2 separate regions of the Homo sapiens genome follow, and region 2 is linked to region 1. The links are contacts of gene promoters, found by promoter capture Hi-C in human tissues and cell types (Jung and others, 2019). All regions are on one chromosome and are shown on one strand. The core of a region is centred on a gene start or on the middle of the fragment in contact, and the rest is flanking DNA. Distances in the headings are between cores, read along the strand shown.

Evidence for each region. Contacts are between HindIII fragments. The study calls those that stand out against the background at their distance.
Region 2: a fragment that was not itself captured here is called in contact with the fragment with the promoter of EHD2 in region 1 in 1 of the 25 tissues and cell types used here (mesendoderm cells).

What each region holds. Positions count from the first base shown.
Region 1 is chr19:47,708,670-47,716,290 of GRCh38, forward strand. EHD2 (EH domain containing 2) reads left to right here and starts at 4,753. Exons shown (of 6, transcript NM_014601.4): 1 at 4,753-4,869. RefSeq lists a silencer at 4,630-4,729. The HindIII fragment of the contact is 24,100 bases long and covers 1-7,621 here.
Region 2 is chr19:47,660,575-47,668,195 of GRCh38, forward strand. The region is part of intron 1 of BICRA (BRD4 interacting chromatin remodeling complex associated protein); the gene reads left to right. Among named protein-coding and RNA genes, the nearest start is that of EHD2, 49 kb to the right of the region's middle. RefSeq lists enhancers at 278-779, 780-1,279. The HindIII fragment of the contact is 7,290 bases long and covers 1-6,456 here.

The DNA of each region.
Region 1 (7,621 bases), core at 3,503-6,002:
CAAAAAATAGATAAATAATAAATAAATAGATAATTTTTTTTGAGATGGAGTCTCACTCTGTCGCCCAGGCTGGAGTGCAGTGGCACAATCTTGGCTCACTGCAACATCCGCCTCCTGAGTTCAAGCCATTCTCCTGCCTCAGCCTCCCAAGTAGCTGGAATTACAGGCATGCGCCACCACGCCTGGCTAATTTTTTTGTACTTTTGGTAGAGACAGGGTTTCACCATATTGCCCAGGCTGGTCTTAAACTCCTGGGCTCAAGCGATCCACCCTCCTCGGCCTCCCAAAGTGCTGGGATTACAAGTGTGAGCCACTTCGCCCAGCCTAAATGGCTGTTTCTTAACATCCTTGGATCACAAAACTCTCGGAGAGACTCTCCTGAAAGACCCCTCCTGATTACTCACAAGGACTCGTCCACAATTTCCACGGGCTCCGGGACTCAGTTCTGCAAGGCTGACTGCCTGCAGGCGAGCGGAAGAACAGAACAGCAGTGACCAACCTTTACTAAACAGGGAACCGCATGGGTTAGCATATCTGGTCCTCACAGCAGCCCCAGCGTGGGAACTAATAGGCCCAGCTTGCAGGTGAGGAAACTGAGGCCCCAAAGATGTAGTACATGGCAGACTGGGCTGTGAGCCAACCTGCCTCAATGCATTCATTAGAGAGAGCTGGCTGTGGGGCCAGTGAGCGATGAGTGTATACAATCGCTGAAAATATCCACAACTGGGCTGGGTGCGGTGGCTCATGCCTGTAATCCTAGCACTTTGGGAGGCCAAGGCGGGTGAATTGCCTGAGCTCAGGAGTTCAAGACCAGCCTGGGCAACATGGTGAAACCCCGTCTCTACTAAAAAATACAAAAAATTAGCCAGGCTTGTTGGTAGGCACCTGTGGTCCCAGCTACTGGGGAGGCTGAGGCATGAGAATCGCTTTAACCTGGGAGGCAGAGGTTGCAGGGAGCTGAGATCGCACCACTGCACTCCAGCCTGGGAAAGAGTGTGAGACTCTGTTTCCAAAAAAAAAAAAGAAAAAAGAAAAAAAAATCCACAACTGCAAACCGATGAACGCATCAGTGATTCCTCTGGGTGGCGGGGACCCAGGTCCTGCTGATGACGCTGTGCTTTGCTGCTAACATTTGTGGTTGACAGAAACTCTGAATTTTAGTGAAAACTCCAGCTGTCTTTTTCCCCCCACATCTAAGTTCACAGATCCTCCGGAATTTTTTTTTTTTTTTTTTTTTTTGAGACGGAGTCTCACTCTGTCGCCCAGGCTGGAGTGCAGTGGTGCGATCTCGGCTCACTGCAAGCTCCGCCTGCCGGGTTCACGCCATTCTCCTGCCTCAGCCCCCAGAGTAGCTGGGACTATAGGCGCCCACCACCACGCCCGGCTAATTTTTTTGTATTTTTAGTAGAGACAGGGTTTCACCGTGTTAGCCAGGATGGTCTCAATCTCCTGATCTTGTGATCCGCCCGCCTCGGCCTCCCAAAGTGCTGAGATTACGGGTGTGAGCCACCGCGCCCAGCCGATCCTCCAGAATGTTTTGCAACAGGTTGAGAAGCCCTGGGGTAGAAGTGAAACAAGACTCTCCCATCAGACAACTCTGGCTCAACTCCGAGTTCTTCCACACCTTGGCAGGCCAAACTCTACTTTCTTTTTTTTTGAGACAGGGTCTTCTTCTTTCACCCAGGCTGGAATGCAGTGGCGCGATCACAGCTCACTGCAGCCTCGGCCTCCTAGGCTCCAGTAATCCTCCCACCTCAGCCTCCCGAGTAGCTGGGACCACAGGTGTGCACCACCACACTCGGCTAATTTTTAGATTTTTTTTATCTTGCAGAGATGGGGTCTCACTATGTTGCCCAGGCTGGTCTTGAACTCCTAGCCTCAAGCAATCCCCTGCCCCAGCCTCCCAAAGTGCTGGGATTACAGGCATGAGCCACTGCACCCAGCTCTGAGACTTTACTTCCTTGTATTTCAACTTTCCCATCTGAGACATAGCAATAATAATAATAATAACAATAATAACAGGACTTGCCCTCCTGGGGGAAGGGAGATGATTTAGGTGATGCTTTTGGAACAGGGCCTGTCTCCTAGCAGTAACAACATTAACGTAAGTTATCATTAAGCTCCAGACCTTTTATATATTATATATATAATAGTAATATTATAGTAACATGTTATTGGCTGGGCCTGCTGGTGCATGCCTGTAATCCCAGCTACTCGAGAGGCTGAGGCACGAGAATCGCTTGAGCCCGGGAGGCAGAGGTTGCAGTGAGCCAAGATCGCGCCACTGCACTCCAGCCTGGGTGACAGAGCAAGAGTCTACCTCCAAAAAAAATAGAAAAAATAAATAAAATGTTATAATTATAATAATATAATATATAATATCAGTTTTATTGAGATATAATTCAGAAGCCATGCAATTCACCCATTTAAAGCATACAATTCAGTTGGGCATGGTGGCTCATGCCTATAATCCCAGCACTTTGGGAAGCTGAGGTGGGTAAATCACTTGACGTCAGAAGTTCGAGACCAGCCAGGCCAACATGGTGAAACCCCTTGTCTGCTAAAAACACAAAATTAGGCCGGGCGCAGTGGCTCATGCCTATAATCCCAGCACTTTGGGAGGCCGAGGCGGGCAGATCACGAGGTCAGGAGATCGAGACCATCTTGGCTAACATGGTGAAACCCTGTCTGTACTAAAAATACAAAAAATTAGCCGGGAATGGTGGTGGGCGCCGTAATCCCAGCTACTCGGGAGGCTGGGGCAGGAGAATGGCGTGAACCCGGGAGGCGGAGCTTGCAGTGAGCCGAGATCGTGCCACTGCACTCCAGCCTGTGCGACAGAGCGAGACTCTGACTCAAAAAAACAAAACAAAACAAAATTAGCCAAGTGTGGTGGCATGCACCTGTAATCCCAGCTACTGGGGAGATTGAGGGAGGAGAATAGTTTGAACCCAGGAGGCGGAGGTTGCAGTGAGCTGAGATCGTGCCACTGCACTCCAGCCTGGGCGATAGAGTAAGACTGTCTCAAAAACAAAAACAAAAACCAAAACCCCAAAACTCCTGTTTCTTGGAGATATGATGAGGGTTCGATGAGCTAATACATGCATGCAAAGAGCTCAGAGCGGTGCCTGCACATAGGAATGGCTCAGTCAACATTAGGGATTGTTTCTACAAATGTTTACTGAGCCCCTGCAGGGAGTTGGGCATTGTGCAAAGCCCTCACGGGGCTCATGTTCTCAGGGCAAAGACAGTCCCTTAGGCAGAGAAATGTGGAATATGCAGAGTGGTTGGGAGGGCTGTGGAGAAAAATAGGGCAGTGATAAGAGGTAGAGAGTGGGTTCTACCTTAGCCAGGGTGATCCTGGAGGACTTCTCTGAGGAGGTGACATTTGAGCAGGGACCTGAAGGAGGGGAGAGAGTGAGGCATTCAGATCCCTATGGGGAAAGTACTCCATGGAGAGGAGTCAGCAAGTGCAAAGGCCATGAACTTGGAGGGTTGGGGGTGTGTCTGAGGAATGGTGAGGAGGCCACGGCGGTTGGAGCCGCCTGAGGAAGGGGGACAGGGGAGATGTAGGTGGATCATGCTAGGCTTTGTGGGCCTTGGTGTGGACTTCGGCTTTTACTCTGAGAGAGAGGAGAGCCAGGGAGGGTTGTCAGCTGAGAAGTTTCATCAACTCCCTTAAGTTTTAATATTAATATTATATTTACTTATTTATTTGCGATGGATTCTCACTCTGTCACCCAGGCTGGAGTGCAGTGGCGTGATCTTGGCTCACTGCAACCTCTGCCTCCTGGGTTCCAGTGATTCTGGAACTTGGGAGCCTCAGCCTCCCAAGTAGCTAGGACTACAGGTGCGTGCCTGCATCCAGCTAATTTTTGTTTATTTATTTATTTTTGAGATGGAGTCTTGCTCTGTCCCCAGGCTGGAGTGCAGTGGCGCAATCACTGCAAGCTCCACCTCCCCTGTGTTTAAGTGATTCTCCTGCCTCAGCTTCCCAAATAGCTGGGACTACAGGCGCCCGCCACCACGCCCAGCTAATTTTTTTGTATTTTTAGTAGAGATGGGTTTGCACCATGTTGGCCAGGCTGGTCTTGAACTCCTGACCTCAAGTGATCCACCCGCCTCGGCCTCCCAAAGTGCTGGGATTACAGGCGTGAGCCACCGCGCCCCGTCCTATTATTTTTTTTAGAGGTGAGGTCTCGCTCTGTCACCCAGGCTGGAGTGCAGTGGCACAATCATAGCTCACTGCAGCCTTGACCTCCTGGGTTCAAGCTATCCTCCCACCTCAGCTTTCCAAGTTGCTGGGATCACAGGTGTGCACCCCTGTGCCTGGCTAAATTATTTTATTATTTATTATTATTTTTAATAGACATGGGGTCTCGCTATATTGTCCAGGCTGGTCTTGGACTCCTGGCCTCAAGCAATCTTCCCACCCTGGCCTTCCAAAGTGTTAGGGTTACAGGCGTGAGCCAGGGCGCCCGACCTGTTATTGTTACTATTATTGCTGCTGCTGTTGTGATTCCCGTGTTAAGAAGAGAGACAGACTGGGGAGCAGCCCAACGCTGGAGGTGGAGGCGGAATTCGAACCCCAGGCTGGACGCTGGAGCTCTCGCCCGCCGTGCTAAGGCGTCTTCCCCACTCCCCACAAGGGGGCGCCAGAGGCCGGGCGCCCGGTTTTGAGGGGGGCGCCTCGTCCCGCCCCTCCCTCCTGTCCTCCCTCCCGTCCTCCCCGCTCCGGGCCCCACCCGGCTCAGACGGCTCCGGACGGGACCGCGAGCACAGGCCGCTCCGCGGGCGCTTCGGATCCTCGCGGGACCCCACCCTCTCCCAGCCTGCCCAGCCCGCTGCAGCCGCCAGCGCGCCCCGTCGGTGAGTGCTCCCAGCACCGCAGCTGTCGCCTCCCGACCCCCGCCCAAGCCTGCCCTGGTTCCTCATGCCTGACCCCTGCTCCCTGCCACCCTGTCCCCAGTCTGTAACGGTCTCCCCAGGTGTCCCCCAGTCTTCACCAGTCCCCCCAGTCTGTAACCATGTCCCCCACTCTTCCCACTCCTCCCACTCTTCCTCCCACTCTTCCTCCAGTCTTTCGCAGCCTCTCACACTCCCCCAGTCTCCTCCATCCTCCCCCAACACCCCTCCCTATCCCCTGGGCTAGAAGAGATCCTCTCTGCAGGGTCTCCCTCCACGCCCTCATCCATATCAGCTAACTTGGTCCCTCCAGCCACTCAAGAGCCCCTCTCCTGCCTCACCAGCTCCATCGGCCACCGCTGATAGCATTCTCCCCAGCTCTCTCTCAGGGCCCTCCCTGCCTGGGACACCGCCCAGAGCCCTCTCCCTCTGCCCACATCCCAGATCCTGCCTCTCTTTTCCATTCTTGCCACTCCTTTACGAACTCCTTTTGCTTTTATCTCCCCTACTCCCTGGCCACCCCTTTTAAGTCTCATGATTTTATGGATTTTAGCATATTTGATTTGCAGTTATTTTGATGCTCAAATTGCCCCATGTTTGGCCACTGGGCACCCCTGCAAGCTGGGTCCTCTGTCCCTGTAACATGCCCTATCGGCCTTTGAGCACTTCCTCACCTTCTGACCCAGGCTCACTTGTTCTTCCCTGCCCCCGCCCTGGAATCCACCATTTCTCTAAGGAGTCCCAGGTTCTTTTAGTGGGGAATGGTATTTAGAGACTCCCATCTCACCAAAAGTTGATTCTTTGAAAAGATCAGTAAAATCATAAGCATCAACGGGGAGCAATCGTTTTTGTTTTTCTTTTTTAAAAAAAGCAAATACCCACACCTGTGGCTGATATCGGGAATGAAAGAGGGGACATCACTACAGATCCTACGGTGAATAAAAGGCTAGTAAGGGAAGATAGAGAACACAGTCTGGGTGCTGGAGGTGCTCATTGCTCCTGGGTTGGTCATGGCTAACCTCCCTAACTCAGATCTTTAGACCTATAATAGGATTGCAACCTCTGAGGTCAGGCTGCCTGTGTTTGAGTCCCAGCTTGAGCATTTTCCAGCTAAGTGATCTTGGGTAATTTATTGCTGTCTTCCTGAGCCTCCTTTGCCTTGTTAAAAAAGCAGAGATGAGCCGGCATGGTGGCACACACCTGTAATCCCAACAATTTGGGAGGCTGAGGTGGGTGGATCACCTGAGCTCAGGAGTTCGAGACCACCCAGGGCAACATGGTGAAACCCATCTCTACTAAAAATACAAAAAAAAATTAACTGGGTGTGGTGGTGCATGCCTCTAGTCCCAACTACTTGGGAGGCTGAGGCAGGAGAATCCCTTGAGCCCCAGAGGTGAAGGCTGCAGTGAGCTGAGATTGTATCACTGCACTCCAGCTTGGGCTACAGAGTGAGACTCCATCTCCAAATAAATAAATAAATAAATAAATAAATAAATAAATAAATAAAAAGAAAGAAAAGCAAAGCAAAGCAGGGATGATAATAGACCTACTTTACAGGGTTATAAATGTTAAGTGAGTTAGTACAGTACCTGGCATGCAGTGATCATAAATGTTGCATTATTTTTCTTGTTAACACCCAACAGCCCTCATGACCTGGGTGCACCCAGGCAACCTTCTCAGCTCCATTTCTCACCCCTCCTCTTTGTGCCCCTGTGTCTGGCCACCTACCCAGATGTTTCATGGCTCCCAGTACACCAGGACCTTTCACATCCCCAGACCTTTGCACGCACCGTCCTCTCTGCCTAAATCCCCTTGTCTTGCCTGCTCTTCATGGAGCAGCTCAAAAGTCAACCCTGCCCTGAGTCTTACTGGTGCTGTGGTCTGTTTCTCATGCCCTCCTCTGGATGTCTGGCATGTGTCTGGGTCCTTACTGGGGGCCCTGGGTGGGTAGGGGATGATCTCTGGCTCATTTCTGGGTCCACAGTGCCTGAAGCATGGAGTGAGTGATTTCAGTGAAAAGGTGTCAAATGATGGAAGGGAGAAGGGAGGAAGAAATGAATGAAGCGATTAAGGAATCCGTTTCTTCCAGGCAGCTTCTGCATCCTTCGCCTTGTCCATCTCTTGGTCTTCCACTACCACCATCAATCCCCCTTCTTCAACCATGTCACCATTAATCTTTCTCCTCCTTCAGCTGGTTCGCTACGATCTCCCTATTTTTTTTGAAATGGAGTGTCGCTCTGTCAAGTGCAGTGGCGGGATCTCGGCTCACTGCAACCTCTGCCTCCTGGGTTCAAGTGATTCTCCTGTCTCAGCCTCCCAAGTAGCTGGGACTACAGGTGGCCACCACCAGGCCTGGCTAATTTTTTGTATGTTTAGTAGAGACAGGATTGCACCATATTGGTCAGGCTGGTCTCAAACTCCTGACCTCAGGTGGTCCACCTGCCTCAGCCTCCCGAAGTGCTGGGATTACAGGCATGAGCCACTGTGCCTGGCCTTTTTTTTTTTTTTTTTTTTTGAGATGGGGTCTTACTCTGTAGCCCAGGCTGGAGTGCAGCGGCATGATCATAGCTCACTGCAGCCTGCAGCCTTGAACTCCTGAGCTCAAGCAATCCTCCTGCCTCAGCCTCCCAAAGTGCTAGGACTACAGGCATGCACCACCATGCCCAGCTAATTATTTTTTTTGTAGAGATGGGGGTCTCACTATTTTACCCAGGCT
Region 2 (7,621 bases), core at 1,562-4,061, 50 kb before region 1:
CACATCACCTCATTTGTCTGTCTGACCAAGGTTCACGGGAATGACTCATTCGAGGCATTTCAGGACAACTAAAGGGATAGAGGACCTGGCCGGGTGAGTGGCAGAGGTGGGGAACCTGTTGTAGTACACCCCTGCTGTGGGGGGTGGAGGGAGAGATGGCCAGGCTGGCATCATCATGTAGTTCCCACGGGCTTAGGAGTCTCAGCTGGGTTCAAATCCTGGCTCTTGGGTGACCTTGGGCAAGTACCCAACCCTTTTTGGCCTCAGTCTCCTCATTTGTGTAATGGGCATGAGGATAATGGCATCTGCCTTATAGTGTTGCTGTGAGAATGAAATGATAAGATGAAGCACTTTGCCGGGCGTGGTGGCTCACGCCTCTAATCCCAGCACTTTGGGAGGCTGACGCGGGCAGATCACGAGGTCAAGAGATTGAGACTATCCTGGCTAACACAGTGAAACCCCGTCTCTACTAAAAATACAAAAACAAAAAATTAGCTGGGCGTGGTTGTGGCGCCTGTAGTGCCAGCTACTCAGGAGGCTGAGGCTGGAGAATGGCGTGAACCCGGGAGGCAGAGGTTGCAGTGAGCTGAAATCACGCCACTGCACACCAGCCTGGGTGACTGAGCGAGACTCCGTCTCAAAAAAAAAAAAAAAAGACGAAGTACTTAGTAAGCATTCAGCAACCTTGGCTGGGGTGACGAAGATGATGAAGTCAGAGGTGGCCGTAGCCAAGGGCTCATGGGACAGAATCTGACCCATCAAATGCCCAGACTCCCAAACACCAGGGCTCATAGCCACGTGGCCCAGGCAGAGGTTGGACTCGTAGTTGGGGCAGGTCCAGTCGGTGGCCAGCGAGGAAGGGGGTTCGCGGGGAGGAGCAGAGGCCAGAGGGAGCCGGGCCGGGGAGGAGGGCTTTCTATGGTCGTTTACACATGGCATCTCGGTGTCCAGTGTGGGGCAGGCATATAGGAGGAGCTGAGGCTGCTTGGGCAGCATTTATTTACCAATCGGTAGGTCAGCTTTTGAGTATTTTAATGGCAGGAGCAGCCAGATGTCAATAAGCCAAATGTGAACCCAGGCTTGGTGATGAGAAAATACATTTACTACATTTGGGCCAGAATAGTGGTCATGGACAGGAGGGCACTGACTGGAGAGATATGGGAGGTGGGATGGATAAAACTTGGATGAGTCAGATGTGGGGTCAAACTTGGTTCCTAAGTCCCCAGAGAGAGCTGTATCAGTGAGCTGTCACTACATAACACACAGCCCTGGCTGGGCACAGTGGCTCATGTCTGTAATCCCAGCACTTTGGGAGGTCAAGATGGGAGGATCGCTTGAGCCCAGGCATTTGAGACCTGCCTGGGCAACATAGTGGGACCCCGTCTCTGCAAAGAATTAACCAGGTGTGGTGGCGTGCGCCTATAGTCCCAGCTCTTCAGGAAACTAAGGTGGGAGGATCCCTGGAGCCCAGGAAGTCAAGGCTGCAGTGAGCTGTGATTACACCACTGCAGTCCATCCTGGCCAACAGAGCGAGACCCTGTCTCAGAAAATCAAAATAATAATAAACAGAAAAAAGAAAACCATGATCCCAACGGTTAGAATTTGGACTGGGCGTAGCTAGGTGCTTCTGGCCTGGGCTGGGTGTCTGTAGTCAGCTGTTGGACAGCTGGTGACTGCGTCTAGGGCTTGGCTGGCTGTTAGCTGGGGTGATGGGGTGATGGGCACGTGGCTCTCATCCTCTTGCAGGCCAGCCTGGGCTTCTTCACCTGGCAGCTGGGCAAAGACTGGAAGTGTGCCAGGCTCAGAATCACACACCATCGGCCAGGCTCCTTGGCTCATGCCTGTAATCCCAGCACTTTGGGAGGCCGAGGCGGGCAGATCACGAGGTCAGTTCAAGACCAGCCTGACCAACATGGTGAAACCCCGTCTCTACTAAAAATACAAAAATTAGCCGGGTGTGGTGGCACGCACCTGTAATCCCAGCTACTCAGGAGGCTGAGGCAGGAGAATCGCTTGAACCCGGGAGGTGGAGGTTGCAGTGAGCCGAGATCATGCCACTGCACTCCAGCCTGGGCAACAAGAGCAAGACTCCATCTCAAAAAAAGAATCACACACCATCACTTTCACCACATTCTGTTGGCCAAAGCAAGTCAAGAAGCCAGCCCAGGGTCAAGGGCTGAAGTCATAGACCCCACTTCTTAATAGGAGGAGCTGCAAAGAGTGTGGGACGAGGGAGGAGAATTTCTGGCCACTTTGCAATCAACCACAGTGGCCTTTGTTTCAGATCCCCTTTCCACCAGCCCTCTCACATTTTGTTTGACCTCTCTTCTTAATCAGTGACCCACAAAGAACAGCCCTTGACCCATGTGAGAGGCCTTGCCATGGGTTGCAAAGAAAATCCAGAAATGGGAGCTCTTTTTGCGTCAGGTTGTATTTGTCTGCAAATAATGGGAAACCACATAGTGGCTTAAACCATAAGGATTAACAAGTTTGGAGGCGGGCAGCCCATGAAGAGTTATGAAGAGTACAGTCAGGCCGGCGCGATGGCTCACGCCTGAAATCCCAGCACTTTGGGAGGCTGAGGCGGGTGGATCACTAGAGGTCAGGAGTTCAAGACCAGCCTGGCTAACGTGGTGAACCCTGTCTCTACTAAAAATACAAAAATTAGCCGGGTGTGGTGGCACGTGCCTCTAATCCCAGCTACTCAGGAGGCTGAGGCAGGAGTCACTTGAACCTGGGAGGCGGAGGTTGCAGTGAGTCAAGATTGCGCCACTGCACTCCAGCCTGGGTGACAGAGCGAGACTCCGTCTCAAAAGAAAAAAAAGAACACGGTCTTTTTGTCAGCTCCCATCAACCATCCTCTGCTGGTGGGCTTTTCAGCCTCAGGTTTGTTGTCCCGTGGTTGCAAAATGGCTGCCACAGCTCTAGTCATCTCAACTGTATTCAAAACTGGAAGCAGGAGCAAAAGACTGTCTTTCTGGAGAAACTCTGTCTTTGTATTCTGGAAGGAAAACTTTCCCTGAAAGTCTCACTGAGCAGAACCTGTCTGTACACTTCAGTTTTTACTATTTGCACAACTGTGGTTACTCTAACTGCAAGAAAGGCTGGGAAAGTGAGTGTCTGATAAAGGAGATAGGAATGCCTCTGGCTTAGTTCAATTATTTTAAGGCTATTTTGACCACAACTCACAGTCCAAAATATGTTTCTTTGTGTCGCAGTACACACACACACACACACACACATTATTGAAACCAATTTCTCAAATACTCACTCTTACCATGTATGATACACGTTAATGTCTTCCATTCCATTCCATTCCATGCATTTTAATTATTTAAAGCAGTTCCTGGTCACAACCTGCTAATTTGATTTCACAACCTTCAAAGGCATGACCCATAGTTTGAGAAAGACTGGCCTAGAACAGTCTTTGTTTACATCTTAGCGTTGGCAAGTGTTAACCCTGCACAGAGTCAGGCTTCTGCGAGCGGAGGAGGAGAGGTGGGGAAATGGTGTTTTGAAAAGCAACAGATAGACTTTGCCACATCATTTGCACTTCTTATCAGCAAATGATATCGTTCTGGAGACTTTGTATTACTGGCAGGCAACCTGAGGTTACTCCAATTTATATTGGGAAATTAAAATTCGCCTGTTTGTGGAGCTTAGCTGGCCCTTTTAATTCCGTATCCTGCTAGCAGCCTGGCTTCTGCACAGCTCCTGATGACAGCGCAAAACTCCGATTGCATTACAAGTGGAGGAGGAATTCACACAATTTTCTGGAAGGACACTGTGTCATTGTTGCGTCATGGCTGTTCTCTGGAGCTGGTTGTGGTTTTCAGGCCCGGCCTTTCCTGCTTTTTATAGTGTGGTGGTGAAGAGTGAGGTCTTCAGAATCACAGGGTCTGAGTTCAAATTCTGGTCCCATGGTGCGATCTGGGGCAAGTGTCCTGACCACCTCCGAGTCTCCTTTTCCTGTAAGATGTGCATCAGCAGTGCTTCCGTGGGGATGGGGAGGGATCGGTGGGTATGGAGTAAGCACAGGGGCTGGTACCCGGAAGCACTCAGGCAATGCGGGCTCTTCAGGGTGTGCCAGGCAGCTTCGGCTGTGTGATGCCACAGTGACGAGTGGGCCCGGGTCGCAGTGGTCCGTGGTGGCAGAGGCTGGCTTCTCGCTCGTGTGTGTGCCCGTGGGGGGTTGGCTGTGGCTCTGGCCACATGTCCGCCCTGTTCTGGAACTCAGGGGAACTATGTGATGGCTCTTGAAGCTTCTGCTCTGAACAGACACAGTGCGCCCACTCCATCTCATGGAAGGAGAATCTTTCCGTAGGAGCAGGCCCACTGGGTGGGGGGCAGCGGACAGATGGTTAAAAAGCCAGTGTGCCACACCAGGGCTTGTCTCCAGGGTGCTGGTGACAATTTTGGGTCCGCAACCCTGCATACTAGTTTTCAACCCCCACCCCCCCGCCCCCCCACTCTGCAACCTCAGTCACTGTTTCAAAAGTTTCTGAGTGTGGGGGGTAGGGGAGAGGTCTCCAGCACCCTCCCTGGCTGAGAACCACCAGCTGTGCTCCCCAAGCCAGGGATGGGGTCTGCCTCTGCCCTTTTGCTGTCCTCAGCACCCCCCACCAGACACACAGTAGGTGCCTACTAAATGTACATTTCAGCAGGTTGCCTCTTGAATAAATGAAAGGATTTGTTTAATTTCCTCTGCAAATTCATTCATTCATCCCACAGATATTTATTGAGCTCCTACTGTATGCCACATAATGTGCCAGCCCCAGGGATCTTGCAGAGGACAAAACAAGCAAAAGTTCCTGTCCTGGGGGACATTTCGGTAGAGGAGACACACAGTAAACAACCAAACCATCAGACGGATATATGATATTTGATGTTAAAGTTTTGGTTTTGTTTTTTTTGGGATGGGGTCTCGCTGTCTTGCCCAGGCTGGAGTGCAGTGGCACGATCACAGCTCACTGCAGCCTCGAACTCCTGGGTTCAAGCAATTCTCCTGCCTCAGTCTCCTGAGTAGCTGGGATTACCGGTGTGCAACACCATGTCTGGCTGGTTGTTTTGTTTTTTTTTAATCTTCATGTGTGTCTTGAAAGGCTTCCCCTGCCTTCTGGGTTGAGAGCAGCAAGACACCTAGCTGGCCTGGTGAGGGTGCACACAGTGCAGGTGCCGCAGCGCCCCCAAAACTGCTGTTTTCCATTGCGTTTATCTCATCTGGAAAATGGGGGTAATACCAGGGTGTTTGGAAGGATTCAAAGAACCCTGGTACCTGGCTGAAGCAGGAGATCTGTTAACCCTTCCAGATACACACACAGGCCATGTGCGGCAAACAGCACCAAAGTGGGGCCGGGGACTTCTGTCCAGCCTCACTGGGCTGTGGCCCAAAAGCTCTGGGAGTCGCCCCATTAGATAGCATCAACAGTGGCAATTAAAATGATCACAACTAGCGTACACACTGCTTACAAAGTACTTTAGGGCATGGATTAGAGGTGTTCCTATGTAACAGTCCCATGGAGGACGTAGTGTTATCCTCCCCAAACGGAGGCACAGAGGGGATAAGTAACTTGTCTTAGGGTACACGGCTGGGAACGGGAAGTGGCAGCCCAGGGATGGGAGCCTCAGAATCAGTCAAGGTGCACTTGATTCCTGCTGTGAGCATGCACAGGCAGTAACCCCAGCCCCTCGCCCAATTTCTTTTTTTCTTTTTCTTTTTCTTCTTTTTTTTTTTGAGCTCTGTCATCCAGGCTGGAGTGCAGTGGCGCAATCTCAGCTCACTGCAGCCTCTGCCTCCTGGGTTCAAGCAATTCTCCTGCCTCAGCCTGCGGAGTAACTGGGATTACAGGCATGTGCCACCACACCCAGCTGTTTTGTATTTTAGTAGAGACAAGGTTTCATCATGTTGACCAGGCTGGTCTTGAACTCCTGACCTCAGTTGATCCTCCCACCCCGCCCTCCCAAAGTGCTGGCATTACAGGTGTGAGCCACCACGCCCGGCCTTCTTTTCTTTTTGAAATGGAGTCTCACTCTGTCGCCCAGGCTGGAGTGTGGTGGTGCAATCTTGGTTCACTGCAGCCTTGGCCTCTGTAGCTCAAGTAATTCTCCCACCTCAGCCTCCCGAGTAGATTGGACCACAGGTGCCCACCACCACCCCCTGGCTAATTTTAAATTTTTTTGTAGAGATGAGATCTTGCTGTGTTGCCTAGGCTGGTTCTCCAACTCCTGAGTTTAAGCCATCCTCCTGCCTCAGCTTCCCTGCCTTGGCTGGGATTACAGGTGTGAGCTAACCATGCCTCCCTCCTTTTTACTTCTTTGAAGTAAAATTTTCCTGTGTTGAAACACACAAATCCGAGCTGTTAAATTCTGAACACTCACATAACCACACCTTGGTCACAACACGGACTGTTTCCCTCTCCCCAGGAAGTTCCCGTTCATGTCTTTTTTCTTTTTTTTTTTTTTGAGACGGAGTCTTGCTCTGTCGCCCAGGCTGGAGTGCAGTGGCACGATCTCGGCTCACTGCAACCTCCGCCTCCCGGGTTCACGCCATTCTCCTGCCTCAGCCTCCCGAGTCGCTAGGACTACAGGCGCCCACCCCCACGCCGGGCTCATTTTTTGTATTTTTAGTAGAGACGGGGTTTCACCATTCACACAATGGTCTCGATCTCCTGACCTTGTGATCCGCCCGCCTTGGCCTCCCAAAGTGCTGGGATTACAGGCGTGAGCCACAGCGCCTGGCCCTATTCATGTCTTTAGTGTTGTCATTGGAATGAAAGCACATGAATACAAAATCCTCAGAGACAGCTCTGCAGCCTCCACTTTGAAATTCACCCTCGGGACTGGTTTGCAGAAGCCTCACGGGAGCTGCATCCCCTCCTGTCTCTAATTCTGCTGGTAGGTAGGTCGTGCACAGAGCTTGGGCCACGCCTACCAGAGCCAGGGAGGAGGCATGAACAGACGTGAACCCTTCATCTTGGGAGCTCGTGCACACCTTCAGGCCAGGCAGGAACAGGGCACCCGCATTCCAGAGGAAAAGAATCCTGTGTTCCAGGGTCTTGCGACATCTGCTTTCTAGCTCTTTCTGGGATCGGGACCTGAGAGGAAGAGAGAAAGCCACTCGCCACTCCTGTTCCTTCCTCCTCCTTCCATGCCAGTCCCTTTATCTCCTTTTCCAATCCGAAGCATCCCAGGCATTCATAAAATGATAACAGAGACGCACACCCCCATCACCCAGCCTCGCGATAGTGCCTGAACATTCTGCTGTATTTGTTTCAGATCCTACGAGAGAAGTAGCAGGAGAGGGTCGCCTGTTGGGTAGTGGTGAAGGGCGAGGCCTCTGCAGTGAGCCTGCCTGGGCTGAAATCCCAGCCTGGGTGGGGTGCGGTGGCTCATGCCTGTAATCCCAGCACTTTGGGAGGCCAAGGGGGCACAGATCACCTGAGGTCAGGAGTTCAGACCAGCCTGGCTGACATAGTGAAACTCTGTCTTTACTAAAAATATAAAAAATTAGCTGGGCGTGGTGGTGCATGCCTGTAATCCCAGCTACTCCGGAGGCTGAGGTAGGAGAATCGCTTGAACCTGGGAAGCAGAGGTTGCAGTGAGCCGAGATCGCGTCATTGCA